Regions from separate parts of the Homo sapiens genome. Here region 2 is linked to region 1. The links are contacts of gene promoters, found by promoter capture Hi-C in blood cells and fetal thymus (Javierre and others, 2016). All regions are on one chromosome and are shown on one strand. The core of a region is centred on a gene start or on the middle of the fragment in contact, and the rest is flanking DNA. Distances in the headings are between cores, read along the strand shown. Region 1 holds the start of JADE2 (jade family PHD finger 2). Region 2 holds the start of C5orf15 (chromosome 5 open reading frame 15).

Region 1 (4,623 bases), core at 772-3,271:
GGAGGCGCGCCGGCGTGATTCCGACCGCCGGAGCCGGGAGGAGGAGCCGGAGGAGGCTGCGGGGGGCTCCGGCCCAGGCGAAGGAAGGGCAAGAGGCTGTTCGACCGGGGGCGGCGCCGGGAGGTGGGTGGGCTTAACACCCAGGTCGGGGGAGGGGTTTAAGAGACACCGGGAAGGGCAGCCGAGCCCCAGGGGCGGGTGGGGTGGTAGCTGTGTGTAGTAGGGGACAGGGCTGGGCCTCTGGAAGCTAGAGTGAAGCCTTCCTGGCTGTCTCGCAGGCAACCCCATCCTCTGGCAGAACAGCTGCGAATCGCCAAGTTGACCCCTCTCGTCCCTTGGCCGAGAGGAGAGGATGTCTCAGGACCCAGGGATGGGCGGGAAGAAACCATGGGGAGCCACAAGTCTGCACCCAGGCGGGGAGGAGGCGGGCGGGCGCCGCTCCGCAGGCGCAGGCGAGTGGGTGGGAAGAAGGGAGGGAGAGGGAGGAAGGAGGTGAGGCCGGGAAGATGCCACTGCCGGGGGCGGGGCGGGGCCGGGGATCCGGCAAAGGGACTGCAGCAGCGCTAGGTGGGGGCGGGGGCTGCAATGTCACTCATTTGAGAGTCAGGTGTGTGCGTCCCAAACGGGGTCCGCCACAAGCCGGCATCTTCCTGGTACCACCCATGGTGCAGGGCCCTAGGCAGAGGGCTGGGGACTGCGGATCCGTCCCTGAAGCGGGACGCGAACCGGCAGAGTTGGGAGAAGGTAAACAAGGGCCACGCCCCCTGCCGTCGCCCCGCGGGCGCGCACCCGCCGCTCCGGCCGCCGCCGGTACATTTCCACTCTCCCAGCGCCTCTCCCCAGCTGGACTACCGCGCGGCCCCGGAGGTGGAGGCTGCCCCCGACCCCAGTCCTCACCCCTGGCGCCGAGGCTCCGCACCCTCCACACTCACCTGGAAAGGGTGTCCCCCGCCCCTCCAAAAAAACTGTCTAATTTGTGCAGAGCCTCCAACCCCAGGAGCCGAGCATGCTGCCCCCGCGTGCAGCGCCCGCGTGCACCGGGCCGGGAGAGGGGGCGACAGGGCGGAGGCGGTGGCCCCCGGAAGGTGTCTGGGACCGGACCGGCTGCACGTGAGCCCAGCGCGAGGTCATGTGCACCGGCTCAGCCCGGTTCGGCGCCCGGACGTGCTGCGTATCAACAAAATGAAACTCGGGGAGACAGGAGGGCAGATAGCTCCAGGTTCTCGGAGCCCCCGCCCGGGCCGCTCGACCTCCCCACCGTACCCATCTCCCGCCGCAGCCCCTACGCCCGGCCGGAGCCCGCGGGGAAGTTGCAGCCCTGGCGCGCCCCCGCCCGCCCGCGCCCCCTCGCCGGCCCGGGGGCGCTTTGCCGCAGTCATTAATAAAGAAGGTCGCCAAGCTCACCCTTCCAAAAGTTGTTGTTGCATGCGCCCCTCTCAGCCTCCCCGCACTGTACTCTTTAAAACACGACTGACCAACATGCGCAATCTCTCTCCCCTGTGCTGTGCATCCCCCCCCTCTCCGCGCTGGCTTCCTAGAACAGGCAGCCAGCAGGAGAGAGAGGGAGCGAGCGAGCAAGAGAGAGCGAGGGAGCGAAGAGCGCTGGCAGATCTGTTGCAAAAACGCCAAATAACGTCGTGGAGATGCGCAGGGCCCATCCGCCGGGGGCTGGATCTTACCTTGCTCCGCGGTGCCCCCCTGACGGGCGCTGCCCTCGGCTACGCGCCGCTGCAGGGACCGGCGCGGGAAGGATGCTCCCGAAGCCGGGAGCTCCTGGGGCCGGCGCGGGAGGGCGGGGGGCGCGCATCCATCCGGGGTCGCGGCGAGGGAGGCGGCCGGGCCCGCGGCGTCCCAGGCCCCACGCCCCCCGCCGGGGACGGTCGGCCCGCAGGACCTAAGCCGGTGCCGCTAGGAGTGGGCGCAAAGTAACTCCATGGACGCTACTCACCCCCCCCAAAAAATAGCCTCCAACTGCGATGGCCGCGGTCGGCACCATTCACCAACCCCCTGTGTATGTTTCTGTTTCTTTTTAAACCAAGACTTCCTTGTGATCTCTTTAGAAAAAAAAAATGTGTTGGGGTGGGGGTGGGGTGGGGGCGGGCAGGAGGAGCGAGGGAGGGGGAGTAGCCACTTTTTTCTTATTCACTCGGATCTCCGCTCCCGACACCCCCGTCGCCGCCCCCCCAACCCCCCGCCCAGTTGTTTGGCTCCGGCGGGGAGTCCAGGTAGCGTTGCGGGCCCCGTGGGGGAAGGGTGCCCTCCCTCGCAGCCCCACCACCACGCCTGCTGGCACCCTGGGCCCGGACTCCCCATGGACTCTGGGGCGCCCCTAGCCCGCCCTGTCCCCAGGGCCGGGCCCGAGCGGCGGCTGCGCCCGTGCAAGTCCCATCAGGTCTGCTCACACTTCACACACTCACACACATACCCCGCCCCTCCACTCTTTCACTCACACTTTCTGCTCACACCCCGCCCCCTACGCGCCCCAGACCCGGGCGGCGCCCCCCGCAACCTTAAAAAAAAAAAAAAGCGAGCTTATACTTAAAAAAATCTTTTGGCGCCATATTAATGACGTACTTAAAATTTGCCATTTCTCCCTGCGTCAAAAAGACGTTTCTTTGCAAATAACAGCCTGGAGGCGACACTCGCGGAGGGAACGAGGTTTGCACTGAGCACCCCGCCCCCCGGGGCTCCAGCGCTGGAAGACCCTCGCCCTAGGCCCTGCTTCTGAATCGCTGGTTTTAAAATGCGAATCGAATAAATTGCGTGGCGTTTTGCAGCACCAGAAGTGAGCAGAAAGTGCTGGCAGGAGGGGAGTGGAGGGGCGAACGCGAGTCTTGGGGAGGGGGCGCGGCCCTCCTCCCCGCACCCACTCCAAATGGAAAACTAACATTCCGGGCGGGGGAACTTGAAATTGTAGGCGACCTCAAGAAAAGAGGGGCGGTCCGTAGAGAGGGTCCCCATTGGGCTCGTCGCCCCCTCCCCCCTCCCGGGTGCCTCCTGGCGCCTAGCGCTGCCCCGCATTTCCGGGGGGTGGAGAAGGCAGTGATGAGCGGGTGGGTGGGTGGTTGCACATCCTGGCCCCAGCAGGATTTTGCCCCGGGGCGACCCCTTCCTCCTTGCTCTTCCTTCCCATTACCCCGAAAGGGTTAAAAACCGAGGGGTAACTTCCAAAGGCTGGCACATGGCGAGGAAGCGGGGCGCCCCTCTCCCCACCCTTCGCCTCCTCGCCCCTCCTCCTCCGGCTCCACTTCCCGACTTGACCTTGTGGTGCACAAACAGTACGCTCGGATCCTCGCAGTTTCTGGAAGAAGAGCCTGCGCTCGCCAGGCGGGCGGGCTGTCGGGCTGCTAGCCGGCGGTGGCGGGGCCTTGGGTCTGTTCCCGGAGCCGCGGGCCACACCCACCCAACCCGCTGCGCCCGCCGAGCTCACCTTCTCTCGAGGAAGGAGAAGGACTGGCCTCCTGGTTGGGGAGGAATCGGGGGTCAAGCTCCAACCTCCTCGGAATGCCTCTAGCTGGGGAGGGGGTGGGTCTGGCCTCGGGAGGAGGTTGTGGGGAGCCTGGCCCAACATCCCCAAAGCATCGTGGCCAACTTTTTCTTCCCCCTCATGGTCGGCTGCCCCTCAGATTATCCAATAATTTTTCAGCTCACCTTTGGCTTTGAAGGCACGTGGGTGAGTTGTGAATGGACACCGGAGTCGCCTTCCCTCTCCAAGACTGAAGATTGTTTATTCTTCCTTTCCCCTCCACCCCCTTCCATGGGAAGATAAATATTCAATTTACATAAGATGACATTTATGTGACAATTAAGAAGATTCCCCGATGGAATGTTGTGAACACATTTGCTTATAGGAGAAATAAATCTAATAATAAACAAACTCATAATAACAGCACAAATCCTCCGACAGGGCGGATTGTCTACCCAACAAAGAGGGAGATGATGAATGCTGAAATAAGCAGTTTTTGCAACAAGAAAGAAATATGAGCTCAAAGGGAGTCACTGCAACATTTCTTCTTCCTTGGCCTTCATTCACAAAGTCTGAGGAGAATTGTCTGGCAAGAGGATGGTCTGGGTATTACCTTCCAGTTAGACCTGGCTGTGGCTCTCAGTGGTCAATTGGTGGTATTTTTCTCTAGCCAAGCTCAGAGTCTGGAAACAGGTGCTGCAGACTTGGAGTGTGTAACAAAATAGTTAAATACTTAGGTTCTAATCCTGGCTTTGCATTTCAGAAGCTGTGTGATGTGGGCAAGTGAATTCATCTCCCTGGATCGCTTTTTCCTTTTGGGTAGAATGGGGTGGTTGGAGGGTTCTTGAGGCCATGTGTGCACATACACATATATGTATGTACGTACATATACAGGTGGTATGTGTAAAGCAGCAACTGGCACAGGGTGCATAGTGCTCATTAGCACCTTGCCTGGTACCTAAGTGGGTTTTTTTTATTTTGGAAGGGTGAAATTGTTCTCTGAAGCTTGATGGTCAAGGTCCAGATGTCCATTCCGGGGTGGGAGTGAGGGTACCAGTTTACAGTGGCACAGTCTAAAGAGATGACCTCCAGAGATGGATGAGGGAAGTGTGACCATTTAAAGTGCACCTGCAGTGTACTGGTCACTTTGTGAGCCA
Region 2 (4,285 bases), core at 1,161-3,660, 560 kb after region 1:
GCTTCTGGGGGATTTCGGGAAATGTGCAGATGAATGACTTCTTAGTTTTCTTAACACAGAGTTTGTGTGTTTCTGAGCTGTCACCAGGGTGAGATAAAAGCTTAGGGGAAACCAGATTCAGGAGTAGAACACAGGCCCTTTAGAGAGACAGCTCAGCTGTGTCTCTGGGGGATAACAGCAATCTTCGCAGGGAATCATAGAGACCAGAATGGTGAAGCTGTGGGCACAATAAATGTCTTGCTTAACGTCACATTGATTTTCCTGAAATTGATCAAATGGAACTTTTATGAATTGAAGCCTGTATCTGTTTATTAAGGAGACATTTACAGAACGTACACACAGAGCAAAGTATGGCGCCAGGGCCCTAGGTGAACTTCTTGGAAGTTTGTAAGTTTGCATTTTTATACACTGGGGATTTCAAGTAACAAAATTTAAAAAGAGAAGCTTATTTTAGGAAATCTGAAAGTTATTTTCAATGGCAGCCCCTCACCTCTACTTCCTAGCTACCTTCCTTTCTTTTCCTCCATAATTTTTTTTTTTTTTTTGAGACGGAGTCTGTGGCCCAGGCTAGAGTGCAGTGGCATCTCGGCTCCCTGCAGCCTCCACCTCCCGGGTTACAGCGATTCTCCTACCTCAGCCTCCCGAGTAGCTGCGATTACAGGCACGCGCCACCACGCCTGGCTAATTTTTGTATTTTTAGTAGAGTCGGGGTTTCTCCATGTTGGCCAGGCTGGTCTCCAACTCCGGACCTCAGGTGATCTGCCCTCCTCGGCCTCCCAAAGTGCTGGGAGCCACTGCACTAGGGCCGGTCCATAATATCTTTATCATCTTGTATAGTGTGTATTTTACACCATATTCGCCCTCACAAGAAAATAAACTGCCAAGGCGGGCGGGGGGGTGGGGGGTTCTTTTTGTTCACTGCTGTATCTTAAATAGGGAGAGGTGCTAAATCTTTGTTGAAAAAAAATAAATGACTGTCGGGAAAGATTTTTAAAAATTACTTATAATCCCATCACCGAAATAGGACTACTTAACATTTGTGTTTCTTTCGCCTTTGAGAGAGGAAGAGCAGTTACTTCGCTTTCGTGATCAGTCTGTTCTACAGCTGGATCTTCCTTTTTAAAATGGCTAAAAACGCTATTTTTGGCTGTATAGTACCCAATCATGCAGGCGGCAGGGAGGGGCTCGCTTTGGCCCTCTTCAGCACGTCACACCCTACCTTTAATCCGCAGCCAACTGTGTGGCGGTCCCCACTTTCGCCTAGCGGCAACTCCCTCCTCCCTGCAATCCTTCCTTCTTATTCCGGTTTCCAGAGCACGTCTCCAGGCTTCGACGTCACCACGCTGGGACGTATGTGCCGAGGGCCGCGGCGTCTGACCTCATGGCGTAGAGCCTAGCAACAGCGCAGGCTCCCAGCCGAGTCCGTTATGGCCGCTGCCGTCCCGAAGAGGATGAGGGGGCCAGCACAAGCGAAACTGCTGCCCGGGTCGGCCATCCAAGCCCTTGTGGGGTTGGCGCGGCCGCTGGTCTTGGCGCTCCTGCTTGTGTCCGCCGCTCTATCCAGTGGTAAAGGGGGGCGGCAGTGTGGGCTTAGGAAGGCTAGGAGGGCTCGGGCGCAGGGCAGGAGACAGGCCGGGCCAGGGAAAGGGCGCTTCCAAGTGTCAGGAGCAGACGGCGGTGTCTGGTTGGGTCAGGGTCTCCGCGGGCCTGAGGACGGAGGGTATGGTGTCTGAAGGGGTCCAAGGTGGTAGGGTCTCCAAGGGGCCTGAGAAGCGGGGTCCCTGAGAGATGCAGGAACCCAGGGAGCAGGCAGCAGGGTGTGTAGATGGGCGGGGAGGGAGGAGTGGTGTTAGCGCCTAGAGATCGTTGAAGAATGGGCTGCCGCAAGGAATGGCGGTGGTGGGGTCTCCAAAATTTCTTGGATCGGAAAGTTAGGAGACTCTGGAAGAGAGGGTGGCGACAGGGGCTGAGGAGGTGGCCGGGGCTGGGGGTGTGGTGTCTGGAAAGGGTCCTGAGTTTGGGGGACTCAGGAATCTTGCAGGACCAAGGAAAGGTGGGGGTTTTCCAGAATGGGAGAGGTCAGTGGTAAAGACCGAGGCGGGCAGGGGCAGTAATCCAGTGACTGGACTGAACCAATGGAATATTTCCGAGAGGGAAAGTGAAAGGGAAAGAGCTGTCTTAGGGTACTGGTGCATATTTGAAGACTGGGAGGTTCTGGTGTTTGATAAAGATTCAGAGTACTGGGGCGTTGGGCCCCTGAAGGCTTGGGAGGCAGAGAGGAGTTTGGAGACAAGGGAGATCATGATTCCTCTTCCCTGTGTTCCGAGTTAACCAGGATAACCCTGCCTCGTTTTAATGCATCTGTAGGATTTGATTGATAAAATATTTCATTTCTTGCAAATGTTGCATGGTGAAATCAAGAGATTGAAGGCTTTTATTGAGAAATTAGGAAATCTGTAAACCAGTGCCTGATACTTGGTGGGAAAAATCCACTATTAAGAACTTGTAAGGATTAAACGGTATTTTGTTTAGTAGTCCCATTTTTCTTTCAGGCCAAGACACAGTCCTGCGTTTCTCCCTAAATTTGAATTTTCAGCTGCAAAACAGTGTGACCTGGTATAGTGTTTTCTTTCTTGCCAGCAGGGCCTGTCCAGCCCTACATTCCTCTGCGACAGTACTGTGGGTACATACTTATGTTTCCTCAGCAACATTTCAGTGTTGCTAACTGGACGCCCTCCCAGAAGTCTTTGCAGTCCCTGAGGAAGGACTGCTGTCCATTTCCTAAGGCCCTTTTATCATTAGTGAAATGTAATGAGGATTTCCCTGGTTGATGCAGATATTCCCGTTCCTAAAGTACTTAAGTAGCTTAATTGTTTTGGCCATTTAATCATCTAAGAAAAATAAAACACAAACATTTATATTTCCTGCTGGAATGCTTAAGGGATATATATCTGGCAACTGTAGTTTCAGAAACAGCTTTTTTCCCCTAAGAGATGGTTGAAAATTGGGCAAGAAGTGAGGCAGAATGTGGACTGTTAAGTGTCCTTTAGTCTCTGCTTTTATTTGTTAGAGCCCTATAAATATTTTTCTAACTATACTGAGACATTTTAGAGAATCTTTATCTTTTAAATTAAGTCTTTACATACACCAGTTTAAAATGTCATAAATTCAGATTATTCTGTCCTGAAAAGAAGCTAAATGAAAACGAACATACATGTCTTTAATAGGCGAGCAGCTCCACTGCACTACAGTGTAGCTTGGGATATAAGTATTTTTTGTAAGCATACCTTATAATTTCAAAGTAGTCACTCCTGTAATAAGAAAATTAGTCTAGAATGTGTTGAGTTCCAAATTTCAAGTGAGTTTACAAAGGTAGAAGGTTACCACATTAGATTTATTTAAATTTGTTCCATATTAGGTTTTAAAAACTGTCAATGCTTGGTTATATGCTCGTCAGTCTGTAAGAATTTTTGTTTTATGTTTTTGTTTTGATCAAGTCTAAAAAATTAACATAAGCAGTTTGGATCACTGGGTGACTAATTCTTGGTCATGCCATTTCAAAAATGCCTGGTTCTCTACATTTGCCATTATATTGTCCCCAAATGATCACCTAAACTTAATGTATAATGCATTTCATTTTTAAGGCATTGTTTCTCAAACCAGTGTGTGAATGAGTTCTCGGGGTCCTCTGCATTCTTAAGTTTAAGAAATGCTGATATAGTTTTATTTTAGGGCAGTTTTTAAAAAGGGACCAGTAGAAGGGGAGAATTAAATTTATAAAGTTTTGTTTTTTGTTTTTTTTTTGAGTCTGTCGCGAGGCTGGAGTGCAGTGGCGTGATCTCGGCTCATTGCAACCTCCGCCTCCCGGTTTCAAGTGATTCTTCTGCCTCAGCCTCCCGAGTATGCTGGGACTACAGGCGCGCACCACACCTGGCTAGTTTTTGTATTTTTAGTAGAGACGGGGTTTCACCGTGTTATCCAGGATGGTCTCAATCTCCTGACCTCGTGATCCGCCCGCCTTGGCCTCCCAAAGTGCTGGGATTACAGGCCTGAGCCACTGTGCCCAGCCTTTTTTGTTTGTTTGTTTGAGACAGGGTTTTGCTCTGTCGCCCAGGCTGGAGTGCAGTAGCACAAACTTGGCCCATTGCAACTTCCGCCTCCTGGGCTCAAGCAGTCCTCCCACTTCAGCCCCCTGAATAGCTGGGACCACAGGTGCCTGCCACCGTGCTCAGCTGATTTTTGTATTTTTGTAGAGATGGGGTTTTGCCATGTTGGCCAGGCTGGT

Evidence for each region. The method cuts DNA at HindIII sites, captures the fragments that hold promoters and counts their contacts. A CHiCAGO score of 5 or more calls a contact.
Region 2: a contact is called between a fragment that was not itself captured here and the fragment with the promoter of JADE2 in region 1, in 1 of 17 cell types (total CD8 T cells). The highest score is 6.3, in total CD8 T cells.

Annotation. Positions count from the first base shown.
Region 1 is chr5:134,523,068-134,527,690 of GRCh38, reverse strand. JADE2 (jade family PHD finger 2) reads right to left here and starts at 2,021. Exons shown (of 12, transcript NM_001388185.1): 1 at 1,680-2,021. LOC124901070 (a long non-coding RNA gene) reads left to right here and starts at 2,089. Exons shown (of 3, transcript XR_007058942.1): 1 at 2,089-2,225; 2 at 2,608-2,785; 3 at 3,647-4,623. RefSeq lists silencers at 432-1,551, 1,562-1,821, 1,852-1,931, 2,062-2,281, 2,302-2,351 and 2 more. The HindIII fragment of the contact is 6,085 bases long and covers 1-4,473 here.
Region 2 is chr5:133,965,727-133,970,011 of GRCh38, reverse strand. C5orf15 (chromosome 5 open reading frame 15) reads left to right here and starts at 1,387. Exons shown (of 3, transcript NM_020199.3): 1 at 1,387-1,566. The coding sequence starts at 1,428. LOC105379183 (a long non-coding RNA gene) reads right to left here and starts at 1,323. Exons shown (of 2, transcript NR_134247.1): 1 at 1,220-1,323; 2 at 1-261. RefSeq lists enhancers at 1,244-1,463, 2,094-2,193. The HindIII fragment of the contact is 3,928 bases long and covers 447-4,285 here.